Regions from separate parts of the Homo sapiens genome. Here region 2 is linked to region 1. Evidence: promoter capture Hi-C in human tissues and cell types (Jung and others, 2019). All regions are on one chromosome and are shown on one strand. Each heading gives the region's core, a stretch centred on a gene start or on the middle of the fragment in contact. The rest is flanking DNA. Distances are from core to core; before and after follow the strand shown.

Region 1 (6,639 bases), core at 4,140-6,639:
GAGGCTGAGGCAGGAGAATCTTAAACCCCAGAGGCGGAGGTGGCAGTGAGCCCAGATTATGCCACTTCACTACAGCCTGGGGGACAGAGGGAGACTTGGTCTCAAAAAAATAAATAAAATAAAATCCACCATAGGAATACCACAAATACAAAAAGCAGTTAAAGATAAAAACACAGAAGATAACAAAGTTACAAATAGACCAAATCATCCCTTCTTCCCTTTCCCTTCATCCCCACCCACCAGCAAATCAATTTTATCTCCAAAATAGGCATCTCCAAGTCACAGCTCCACTGTCACTATTAGTCACCATCATTTTGTAGCTGGATTACAATAACAGCCCCAGGTCACTCCTCTGCCTCAAATTCCTTCCTTGGAGCCCACAGCACTTTAAATAAAAACCCAATTCCTGACCCTGATCTTTATCTCCAAACTCATTTTATATGTCCCCCTTTCTCCTTTAAGAAACACACTCCCAGGCCGGAGAGGGTGGCTCACATCTGTAATCCCAGCACTTTGGGAGGCTGAGGCAGGTGGATCATGAGGTCAAGATATAGGGACCATCCTGGCCAACATGGTGAAACCTTGTCTCTACTAAAAATACAAAAATTAGCCGGACATGGTGGCGGGTGCCTGTAGTCCCATGCAGTCCCAGCTACTCAGGAGGCTGAGGTAGGAGAATCACTTGAACCTGGGAGGCAGAGGTTGCAGTGAGCCGAGATTGGGCCACTGCACTCTAGCCTGGCCACAGAGTGAGACGTCATCTACCAAAAAAAAAAAAAAAAAAAAAAAGCCGGGCGCAGTGGCTCACACTTGTAATTCCAGCACTTTGGGAGGCCGAGGCGGGCGGATCACTAGGTTAGGAGATCGAGACTATCCTGGCTAACATGGTGAAACCCCGTCTCCACTAAAAATACAAAAAATTTGCCCGGCATGGTTGCAGGCGCCTGTAGTCCCAGCTACTCGGGAGGCTGAGGCAGGAGAATGGTGTGAACCCAGGAGGCGGAGCTTGCAGTGAGCCGAGATCGCACACTCCAGCCTGGGCGACAGAGCAAGACTCCGTCTCAAGAAAAAAAAAAAGAAAAAAGAAAGAAAGAAAAGAAACACACTCCCAACACAATGGACTTTCTCACCTCAGGACATCTACATAAGCTTTTCCCTAAACTTGGAAGGCTCTTCTCCTCCTCTCAGGCCAAGCCTTGCCTAGGCTGGGTTCTTCTTTACCCTCAGGTCTTAGCTTCATGCTTTCTCTGACCACGCCACCCCAGGTAGGTCCCTCCTGTATATTGATCTTACTAGTACTTTATTTTTCTACTTTTCAGTCTGTCTTCTCCACTACAGTAGGAGTTCCACAGGAAGAAAGTATGTCTGTCACACATCTTTCCCAGTACCTACACTGGGTTACACTGGGTTATAATTCTCTTATAAACATTTGAATAAAAATATAAAATTAAAAATTATGAAGCATTCTAATGAAAAGGATAAGACTATAACAATGCAAGCCACCAGTCCTTAAATTTCGAGTAGGACATTATTGTTACAAATTTTAGCTATGCAAGATAAACCAAAATATTAGCCAAGAGGCATGAAACTCTGGCTTTAAAAGCTCAGTTTTGATGCCTGCAAAGTTAAGCCACTAAATGTACCCTGTTTGGGATGCGAAGAAGCATTACACTGAGTTTTCCGTTTGGCCCAGGCTCTAGTAGTCACTAGCTTTCTATAAAAGGCTAATAACATGTTAAACCTAAGCCATGAAAACCAGGCTTGGGAGTGGCAATTCGAAGATTCAGTATAACAAAGTAAACTCAGTCAGGATCTAATTCAACCAGCATGGTGATCTCCTTCAGAGATACCTAGGAAAATGAAAAACTAAATTAAAGCAACAGGCCTGAGGCAGAGGGCACAGAGAAGGAGAAACAAAGCTGAACGTGAGGGGTAGGGTCAGAGAAAGGCCCTATAATCTGTGAGGGGACTGGAACAACAGGTAGGATTTCAACAGATGGAGAGTGAGGTGTAGTTAAGGCAGTCAGTGAAGAGCCAACAGCTGGAGCAAAGGTGCAAAGGTACAAAGGTATGAGTAAGGAAGGATGGCTACCAGGGAATAAGTGAGCAGCCTAGTACAGCTGCAGTAAAGGAAGGACGAAAGAGGGCAAAGACAGAATTACATGCTTGTTCTCTAAGAAGATGCATGCATGTACGGAAAATCTGGAGGCGATTCTGTGGATAGAGAGAAGCGGCATACTTCTTTTCCTTCCTCTAGAAGGAGACTCAAGTCATTAACTTTTTCCTTTTTTTTTTTTGAGACAGAGTCTCACTCTGTCACCCGGGCTGTGCAGTGGCGCGATCTCGGCTCACTGCAACCTCCGCCTCCCGGGTTCGAGCGATTCTCCTGCCTCAGCCTCCCGAGTAGCTGGGATTACAGGCACCCACCACTACGCCCAGCTAATTTTTTGTATTTTTAGCAGAGACGGGGTTTCACCATGTTGGCCAAGATGGTCTTGAACTCCTGACCTCGTGATTCGCCCGGCTTGGCTTCCCAAAGTGCTGGGATTACTGGCGTGAGCTACCACACCCGCCCATTAACTTGCTTTTTGAAACAGCTGTATTATTAGTACTCATGACCTCAACATAAGCATATGCATGGCTTAATGAATGCCTGGTATTAATTATATAATTCACGCTCACAAACGAGAGGAAGAATTTATTCAGTCATATTACAAATCTCACTACAGTGGGTTCTAAGATTCTCAACTCCTTAAATTGGAATTATATTGTGCTCAAAGTTGACTGCAACTACCAGCATCTGCCAGGAACCGCAGGTTTCACCAATCAGATTCTTGGTGTCCTGGTCTTTGTTATACAGTATTTGATTTATAATCACTTTCTCCCCACTTTTAAAGTCCATTTAGTTCAGTAGTTAATCTTGTAGTCATTATACTGTCATGGCTTTTTTTTTTCTATCTCTATCCCACTATGCAAACAGTTGGTGTCCTCAATTATAATAGCTTTTAATGTTTAAAGTTTAGAGTAATACCCGGTCGACAAATCCATAAAGTCATAAACATCTAACCCTGGAAAAACTGTATCAACACCCAGTCCTTTTAAAATAGATGTTTAAGAAACGAACTGGCCAGTTTGTTACTTTAAAAATTCTAGGCAACTTTTCAACTCAAATTTGGGATAATTTAAATAAAAGAAACCTCTGATAAAATCAGTGTTACAGGGCAAACACAACAATAAAAGCAAATCTCTGCTAAAACGCTTAAGGCAAATTAAAGCAACTAATCAATTAAAATAACGTATTTCACTTGGAAAAGAGAATGCTTGGTCACTTTGCGTTAATTTTAAAATAAGAAATACAAAATCATTAGACTTAACACAAAAAGCATGTCTGAAATTGAACTAGGATACAACTAAGTGTCATTCAAAAATTTTCCTTAATAACATTCTAGCCTAATTCCACCTTGGAAATTAACCAGACTGATCTCTGGCCTACTAATGGTCCTCGGGGAGAAAATATGCAATAAATTTTCCAAAAAATATCCTCGCTGAAGCCAATGCACCTTCTCTTATCTTTGTAATTAACGTACTATAAAAGTGGTGGTGTCTGGCCTGCTTCAAACTTGGCACCACAGTATCAATATACAGTTCTGATATTTTGGTTAAAGGTTTTTTTGTTTCTAAACGCTAAAGCATTTTCATTTTTTTGACTGTTCCAAAGGCTGCAGTCCTGGAGTTCTTAACCTGGAGTTCAGAGATCTGGAGGGAGTACAAGCACCCGGGATGGTGTGCAAACTTGTGTGTACGTGCCTTTGGCGGGGAGGGGTGGGGGTGGGGGTGGGGGTGGGGTGGTGAGTGCTCGGCTATCTTCAGATTCTCAAAGAAGTCTATGGCTTAAAAACGGTTTTTGGCCGGGTGTGGTGGCTCACGCCTGTAATCCCAGCATTTTGGGAGACCGAGGCAGGCGGATCACGAGGGCAAGAGATCGAGACCATCCAGGCCAACATGGTGAAACACCGTCTCTACTAAAAATACAAAAATTAGCTGGGTGTGGTGGCGTGAGCCAGTAGTCCCAGCTACTCGGGAGGCTAAGGCAGGAGAATCGCTTGAACCCGGGAGGCGGAGGTTGCAGTGAGCCGAGATCGCACCACTGCACTCCAGCCTGGCGACACAGCGAGACTCCGTCTCAAAAAAAAAAAAAAAAAAGAGGTTTTTAGAAAAACCAACAAATCCCTGCATCAGTATTACACCCAGAGAAAGTCACGAAAGGCAAAAAGCGTGCATTTTAACTATGCAACCACCGTTAAACATTCAAAACGCATCCTCTTCACATTGAGAAACAGCCTCGTGAGAGGGAAAAAAAAAAAACGCATCCTCTTATCCAGTGACCCAGATCCTGACACTAGCTTTCTGTTAGGAAGGCCTTCTGGAAAATAATTTGGTTCAGAATGCGGGGAATATGGGTTCAAGCGCGCCCCACCCCCCTATACAAGCACTCTTCGACAGACCCGGTTCTCGACCTTCCTCCGCGGTCGGGGAGGGCTCTCGCGTACCTGGGCGCAGGCTCGATGAGGGTGGTGGTGTCCAGGTAGTGGATCTTGTAAAACTCCAGCAGGGCCGGCAAATGGTCAAATTCCTGGTCCCCGATCTTAAAACGGCGGTTGGGCAGCGAGTTGATGATGTAGTGGGAGACCCGCGAGTTCTCGGACACCGACAGCACATAGTCCCCAGGGCAGGTGGAAGAATCGCGGACGAGGAACATACCGTGGCGCTGGCCCTGGAGCCGGGTCTGCGCCTCCTGGCGAGACACCGGCCCCATATACCAGGCGGAGCGGTCCGAGGAGTCGAACCTGGCGGAGGACATGGTGTTGGACCGGGGACTCTGCGGCGGTAGGGGCGGCGGCTGTCCTCGCCTGCTCTGCACGCCTTAGCCCGGCAGACGGCTTTGGGGCCGAGGAAGGGCCTCTCGCACACCTCGAGGAGCGCTCAGAGGGCTGGGCCAGCACTTTCCTCTCGGCTCCGGGCCCGCAGCATCCTCCGACGCCGCCCGCCTGCTCCGGGGCCGCCACACGGAGAGAGCCGCCCGGGAATGCACGGCAGAGCCGGGGGGTCGGGGCAGGCAAACCCGAGCCGCAGCGGAGGCCACCCCGGGGTTCTCGGGCTGCTCGGCGTCCCAGGGGTGCCTCCAGTGACTCCCGGCCTGGAACGCGCCGGCGCCGCAGCTCGACGGGTCTTCACCGACCCCCGCCGTCACACGAGGCACCGAACTCGAAGGAGCGTCGCGCCTCCGGGGTGCTTTTGCCCAGCTTGTTCCCAATAGCCACAGCAACAAAATGGCGGACGCGGGAGAAGCGGCAGCCACCTCCCCCTCCGCTCAGCGCGCTCCGTCTGCGCACGCGCTGGGCCCCGGCTCCCGGCGGCCGCCGGGGCCCTCCCGTTACGTCACACAGCGCAGCCAATCAGGAGCACCGTCGCGACGATCAGGGTGGGCGCTGGTCGCGCCCGCTCCCGCGTTCCAGGAGGAGGCTGAAGAGGCGCCGGCGGTAGGCACTCTCTTCCTGGGCCGCTGCGCGCCGCTGGGGGCGCTGCGGCTGCCGGGTCTCCCAGCGCTGGCAGGAAAACAGCTGGAGCCGAGAGGGAACCGCGTTTCGAAAACCTGCTTCTGGGAACAAAGCGTAACGTGCAGGCTGAATCGCGGGCCAGGGAGGCGTGGCACTGAGGCGACCTGGCCAGCCTAGGGGCCTGAGGGAGGTCAAGGACTGACAGGTCCCGATGGGCCGAGGTGGCCCAGTAAAAGGATGAGCCCAGGGGCAGATGTGACCACCAGATAGGTGACTGACTGAATGACTCAGTCCCCAGGTGGCCTGATAGGCTAAGGAAGCCCTAGTGGCTACGTGACCCGCTAAATGGAGTGAGAGGAGAGAGAAGGTGAGGGTTAGATTGACTCAATTAAGTGGTCAAGGAAGTCCACAAGTGGGTAACCTGGCTATCATGGGCTCTGAACTGCTGAAAGTAAAATACAAATGCCTCTCGGGCGTGGCCCCGAGGCTTCCCCTGCCCCGGATTATGCCTGCTTCTGCCTATTTATTAATCCCTATTTGTTTTTGTTTGTTTTCTTTCTTTCTTTCTTTCTTTCTTTCTTTCTTTCTTTCTTTCTTTCTTTTCTTTTTTCTTTTCTTTTCTTTCTCTCTCTCTCTCTCTTCCTTTCCTTTCCCTTTCCCTTTCCTTTCCCTTTCCCTTTCCTTTCCTTCTTTCGACGGAGTCTCGCTCTGTCACCAGGTTGGAGTGCAGGGGCGCGATCTCGGCTCACTGCAACCTCCGCCTCCCGGGTTCAAGCGATTCTCCTGCCTCAGCCTCCCGAGTAGCTGGGATTACAGCTGTCCGCCGCCATGCCCTGCTAATTTTTGTATTTTTAGTAGAAACGGGGTTTCACCATGTTGGCCAGGCTGGTCTCAAACTCCTGACCTCAGGTGATCTGCCTGCCTCAGCTTCCCAAAGTGCTAGGATTACAGGCGTGAGCCACCGTGCCCAGCCTGTTTGTTTTATTTTGTTTGTTTTTGAGACAGGTTCTCCTTCTGTCACCCAGGCTGGAGTGCAGTGGAACTATCATGGCTCACTGCAGCCTTGATTTCCCCATCTCAA
Region 2 (6,639 bases), core at 2,967-5,466, 140 kb before region 1:
TCATGCACGAGTTCTTGTGGGGACATATGTCTTCATTTCTTTCAAGTATATACCTAGGAATGGAAATAATGGGTTATACGGTAATTCTATGATTAAGCTTTTGAGGAACTGTCAGACAAGCCATGTGATTGACTGATTGATTTTTAAAGACAGGGTCTTATTGTATTGCCCCAGCTGGTCTCCAACTCCTGAGCTCAAGCAATCCTCCTACCTCAGCCTCTGAATGGCTGGGGCTACAGGCACGTGCCACTGCACCCAGCTGCCATGTGATTTTTTTCTTCCCAATTTTCTCACTGAACATTAATCATGTGTATTTTCATGAATGGTTAAGTGTTCTTTGAGCATGTGGCTTTTAACATTTAACATATCCAAATTTTAATTGGCCAATCCCGTTATTGGGGACACTTCCAATTTTCATTATGATAAACAGCATTTCCATGGGCATCTTTTTTTTTTTTGAGACAGAGTTTTGCTCTTGTTGCCCAGGCTAGAGTGCAATGGTGAGAACTGCAGCCTCCACCTCCAGGATTCAAGCAATTCTCCTGCCTCAGCCTCCTGAGTAGCGGGGATTACAGGTGTGCGCCATCATGCCTGGCTAATTTTGTATTTTTAGTACAGCTGGGGTTTCACCATGTTTGTCAAGCTGGTCTCAAACTCCTGACCTCAAGGGATCCACCCACCTAGGCCTCCAAAAGGGCTGGGATTACAAGTGTGAGCCACCGCGTCCGGCCCCATGAGCATCTTTAGGCATCAATCTTTTATACATCTCTGGTTATTTCTCTAGAGCACATTAGTCAAATGATTGTATCAAAGGGCACAGGCAGTTTTGAGGCTCTCAGTGCATGATGATAAACTGCCTTCCAAAAAGGCTGTGCCCGTTTGCATTCTCAAAAGTAGAGTGTGCACCCCTCCTTACATTTTAATAGTTTCCTGAGGTCACCAGAACATGAACATGGGGAGGGCAGGGACTTGCTTGGGCATCTTGGATACCATGCCCAGTTCAATGTGCAGTACTTAGTAGGGGTTTGTGTGACAGGAATGAGTGAGAGCACATGAAGGCCCAGATGAGTGCAGGGTCCGTGGGGCACAGAGGAGGGTACAGGTGTGTGAGCACCGTGTGGACTTAGCACACGGCTGACGTGAGGACTCAGTGCAGACACAAGTGGTAACAAGGCCTCGTGAGTCAAAGAGCTCCTCACCCTGGAGGTCAAAGCAGCTGATTGGAGATGAGGAAGCCACACTCCAAGGTCACTTAGGGACAGACGCTGGCAGGGCTGATCTGAAGACTGGCAGCAACTCCTTTTTATACTCCACTCTGCAAGCGCCAGTCTTTATGCAGAGTTCTGGAAGAATTCCCCTCACTGAGCTAGCAAGGCCATCAAACTCTGCGTTCACCTGGATATCCTAAGGAGACACCCATTACAAGGATGAACTTTGTTACTATCTGAGAACTTCACCATTTTTCACTCACACACGCAAGGTCTCAGAGAAGCTCCTTCGGGCAGCTTCTCCCCTGTGGATGACAGTCTCATACCCGCAAACTAGTAAGATCCAGGAGAGAAGGGGACAATGGGGGATGTTTAGAGGCCTGCTGTATTTATTTATTTAGAAATGGGATCGTACTGTGTCACCAGGCTGGAGTGCAGTGGCTCAATCATAGCTCACTTCATCCCTGAGCTCCTGGACTCAAGCTATCTATCCTCTTGCTTAAGCCTCCAGAATAGCAGGGACTACAGGTGCCCACCACCATGCCCGGCTATGCTGTATTTCCAGATCTGGGGGCTGGTTACATAGACACCTATGCTGTTTGTGAAAATTCTCCAAGCTCTATGCTTAATCTTTGTGCATTTTTCAGCATAGATGTTGTTCCTCAATTAAAAACAAAAAACCAAGGGGTTGTGAAGAACAGAACTGGCACTGATGGAGTCCTTCTCTGTGCAAGGCCTTTCCCTTAGGTCTGTCATCTCAGCTTATGTTCATGATGGCCTTGCGGGGTAGACGTTAGCCCCATTTCACAAAAACACAAGTCTGAGCCTAGGGAAAGATTTTCCTTGAACTATAAGTCTTCAAAACTATTTCCCTCAAAGCTCAGAATAAAATCTGGGCTAGTCAGATTATACTAGTGATAACAGATAACAACAGTTAAGGAATAGAAGATAGAATATTCAATTCAGGCTAATTGTTTTTCTTTGTTTTTTTGTTTTTTGGGTTTTTTTGAGGTAGAGTCTCGCTCTGTCACCCAGGCTGGAATGCATTGGCATGGTCTCGGCTCACTGAAACCTCCGCTTTCTGGTTCAAGCGATTCTCCTGCCTCAGCCTCCCGAGTAGCTGAGGTTACAGGTGAGCACCACCACATCCAGCTAATTTTTCTTCTATCTTTTACAACACAGAGTTTCACTCTTGTTGCTCAGGCTGGAGTGCAATGGCACGATCTCGGCTCACTGCAACCTCTGCCTCTGGGTTCTCCTGGAGGTGATTCTCCTGCCTCAGCCTCCTGAGTAGCTGGGATTACAAGTGCATACCACTATGCCCGGCTAATTTTTGTATTTTTAGTAGAGACAGGGTTTCACCATGTTGGCCAGACTGATCTCGAACTCCTGACCTCAGGTGATCTGCCTGCCTCGGCCTCCCAAAGTTCTGGGATTACAGGCATGAGCTACCAACTCCGGCCAAATTTTTGTATTATTAGTAAAGACAGGTTTTGCCATGTTGGCCAGGGTGGTCTCGAACTCCTGACCTCAGGTGATCCACCTGCCTTGGCCTCCCGAGGTCCTGGGGTTATAGGCGTGAACCATCATGCCCATCCCAGGCTTGTTATTGATTGATCGTTTATGATTCTTTGACTCAGAATCTTGTCCAGGATCTCACATTGATAGACACAGGATTTGGTCCCAACCCTGAACTGATTCCAAAGCCCATGGCATTCCCACAAGACTAGGGGCTTCTGATAATGACCATACATTGTGACAAGTAAGTGTATATTCAGGCAGGATAATGCCATATGACATTCTATTTCTTTTAGAATGACAGATCCAGTGCTGACAGGAATTCTCAGAGCAGCAGGCACATGGTTAAGGCAAGAACAGGCCATTAGAAGGAAATGGTAAGGACGTTTGACATCGGTTGTCCCAAACCTGAAGAATTGAAACTACACAGACACATTTCTGGAAAGGCTTTGACTCAAGTCTGGGTTGAAAAAAATCAGGGTTAGAATCAGCACTGATTTGTAACTCAATTTTTTTTGTTTCCTTCCCTTTTTTTTTGAGACAGAATCTGGCCCTGTTCCCCAGGTTGGAGTGCAGTGGCACAATCATAGCTCACTGAAGCCACAAACTCCTGGGATCAGGTGATCCTCCTGCTTCAGTCTTCTGAGTACCCGAAACTACGGGTATGTGCCACATGCCTGGCTAATTTTTTAAAAAGCTTTTTGTAGAGATGGGGACCTTTCTGTGTTGCCCAGGATGGTCTTGAACTCTAGGCTTCAAGGGATCCTCCCACCTCAGCCTCCCAACATGCTAAGATTATAGGTGTGAGCCATCTCACCTGGCACTTTTTCTACATTAAAAAAATCAAAATTCGCCAGGCGCAATGGATCATGCCTGTAATCCCAGCACTTGGAAGGCCGAGGTGGGTGGATCACCTGAGGTCAGGAGTTCGAGACCAGCCTGGCCAACCTGGTGAAACCCCATCTCTACTAAAAAAAATACCAAAAAAAAAAAAAAAATCAGCCGGGCGTGGTGGCACACATCTGTAATCCTGGCTACTCAGGAGGCTGAGGTAGAAGAATTGCCTGAATCTGGGAGCCGGAAGTTGCAGAGAGCCAATATAGCACCACTGCACTCCAGCCTGGGCGACAGAGTGAGACTCTGTCTCAAAAAAAAAAAAAAAATCAAAATTGACCCAAGACATGAGAGACCATGGCACAGGATCACTTGAGGTCAGAAGTTTGCAACCAGCCTGGGCAACATAGCAAGCCCCCATCTCTAAAAACTTTAGCCAGGTATGGTGACCTGTACCTGTACTTCCAGCTGCTTGGGGAGCTTAGACAGGAGAACCACTTGAGCCAAGGAATTTGAGACTGCAGTGAGCTACGATCACACCACTGCACTGCAACTGGGTGACAGAGTGAGACCCTGACTCAAAAAAAAAGTGGCAAAATTGAATGAAAAGGGATCCTAATCTCTCTCACAGCCACTCAAGTGAAGCTTCCAGCACCACAGTCCACCTGCAGACAGTCAGGGGAGGGGCAGAGGGCAGCCTTGCAGGTGCTGCGCCTGCAGATCGAAACCTCAGTGGATAGGGAGCATCATGCCCAGACCTCCACTTATCCTCTCTCAGCCAATGAAGAACCCAGGCAGGTGCCCCAGGTGAGATCCCGTGGAACCAGCAGTCTGGAGCGGGCAGAGCTGAGTGGCCCCATGCCTGCATTCAAGTCCCGTTGCAACTCTGCTTCTGCCACGCTGTGTAACTGGGCAGGGCTCTTGATTTCTGTAACCCTCACTTTCTTCTTCTAAAATTATGATACCTCACAGGGCTGCTGGGAGGATCAGAAACGAGGTTTATAAAATGCTCTTACTGAGAAATCCAGCAGTTCCAGGGCAGAGGCTGGATTGTCCTGGACAGACTTGAGGAGACCAAAGCAGCCTTCACTTCGCATGGGATTCCTGGACACCTGAGAAACACGCACACAAAGCTGCGAGAAGCCAGGTCCGGGAAGGCCAGAGAGCAATGTGAAAGGGAAGGAGGGGCTCCTCATCTCTGAGGACACAGCCACTATGGCCACACTGTTTCGGCTCAGAAGGTGTCTCCATCAGATAGTCAGACAGAATGCTCTGGTGAGGCTGCTGGGTCAGGGAAGAAAGGAAGGGAGAGGCCTCCGATTGATATAGACACACAAGACACACCCTTGCCTTTAAGAACTTGCCTGCTGGGGAGAGGGGAGGGAAAGGAAGCATCATGAAATGTGGTGTGATCAGCGCAGTGAGTGAGTGTGCACCAGCTCCCCTGGGAGGGAAAGGCTGGGAGGGGAGGTGTATCTGGGCAGGGCTCAGCGGAGCTTCCCAGGTGAGGTGGCCGGAGCTGGACACTTCAGCAAGAACAGCAGAGGAACAAAGGCAGGGGTGAAAAATAGTACCGTGTGTGTGTGTGTGTGTGTGTGTGTGTGTGTGTGTGTGTGTGTGCTCCAAGCTTGGGGTGAGAGCACTGAACTTGGAAGAGAGGGGCTGGCAGAGCCCAGATCCCCCATGACATGCTATGTTACTTTTTTTTTTTTTTTGAGACAGAGTCTTGCTCTGTCATCCAGACTGGAGTGCAGTGGTGAGATCTCAGCTCACTGCAACCTTCACCTCCTGGGTTCAAAGGATCCTCCTGCCTCAGCCTCCAGAGTAGCTGGGATTATAGGTGTGCATCACCACATCTGGCTCATCTTTTTGTTTTCAGTAGAGACAGGGTTTCACCATGTTGGTCAGTCTGGGCTCAAACTCCTGACCTCAAGCGATCTGCCTGCCTCAGCCTCCCGAAGTGCTGGGATTATTGGCGTGAGCCACCACACCTAGCTCCGCATGACATGATGCACTCAAAGCTTGGGTTTATCCAGAGGGGATAAAACTCCAACAGTTTTAAAGCAGGGCATGTTTCTGGTCCTGGGTAGCAGCTGGGAAGAAAGAACCGCAGCCAGGAATCCCGCAAGTTCACAGAAGCTAAGAGAGGAAGTCAGAAGAGGGAGGAGTCAGCAGGGTGAGCCCCTGCAGAAGGTGGGAGGGAGGGTGTGGAAAAGGGAGGGGCAGGCAGGCTCTGGGCCCCAGCTGGTGACTTGGGAAGAAGGAAGAAGGAGCCCCCCACCAGGAGGTGGCCCTTAGAGGGGGGTATGCGTTCAGGTTGGACTCTCACATTCCCACGTGTCTTTGGGACATTTAGAGGACTGTCTACGAGGTGACTCGAAACGCAGGTCTATGCTTCAGAGAGGTCCAGGTTCCTGTGAGGCAGGAAGCAGGGGAGGAGAGCTATGGGAGAAGCCCAGTAAGGCTAGGGTGGGGAGCTGAGGGCCGACAGAGCTGGATGTCCATACCCAGCTGGCAATACTGTCCCCCAGCACGTACCTGCTGTGGGCACAGTGGTCCCCTGGGGACCTGCTCCCGGCTTGCCTCCCTCCTGTGTCTGTCTTCTGCTCCCTGTCCTGCTCAGCACTCCCTCCCCACCTGCAAACCCAGGGGAAGGAACCCCAGCTGGGAACACCAGGCCTCAGGTGGGCCTGAGCAGTGGCCAACAGAACACCTGGGTGGGGCCTGGGTCTCAGCAAGGCCAGAGGAAAGGCAGGGGAGAAGATGAGGGAGACACAAGGGGTGCCCAGCCACCTTCAGCAGAGCAGCACCCCAGCCCACAGAGGAGGAAGGGCAGCAAGAAGATGTGGGAGAGAGGCTGGGAGGGATGAAGGGGAGAAGAGGAGGGCCAGGCCCCAGATTCAGGGTGAGTGGCAAGGGAGTGAGCCAGCCTGTGTGCACCTGCCTGCTGCCCCTGGGTGGGGGCTGTGGGGGAGGGATCTGTGTGGACTGTTACAGGGCAGGTCTGTGCTGGTGTCTCAGTCATCAGGCTAGCACTCACTACAAGAATCCTCAGCGTCTGGTTGACCCGGAGGCCCAG

What was found. The method cuts DNA at HindIII sites, captures the fragments that hold promoters and counts their contacts. A contact is called where the count stands out against the background at its distance.
Region 2: a fragment that was not itself captured here is called in contact with the fragment with the promoter of CRKL in region 1 in 1 of the 25 tissues and cell types used here (mesendoderm cells).

What each region holds. Positions count from the first base shown.
Region 1 is chr22:20,916,157-20,922,795 of GRCh38, reverse strand. It overlaps CRKL (CRK like proto-oncogene, adaptor protein), which reads right to left and starts at 5,389. Exons shown (of 3, transcript NM_005207.4): 1 at 4,551-5,389. The coding sequence starts at 4,861. RefSeq lists an enhancer at 4,673-4,732 and a silencer at 5,023-5,472. The HindIII fragment of the contact is 23,660 bases long and covers 1-6,639 here.
Region 2 is chr22:21,055,138-21,061,776 of GRCh38, reverse strand. It overlaps LRRC74B (leucine rich repeat containing 74B), which reads right to left. Exons shown (of 10, transcript NM_001291006.2): 7 at 6,601-6,639; 8 at 4,577-4,672; 9 at 1,200-1,404; 10 at 1-53. The coding sequence ends at 1,249. Among named protein-coding and RNA genes, the nearest start is that of LRRC74B, 13 kb to the right of the region's middle. RefSeq lists an enhancer at 5,652-6,184. The HindIII fragment of the contact is 4,911 bases long and covers 1,761-6,639 here.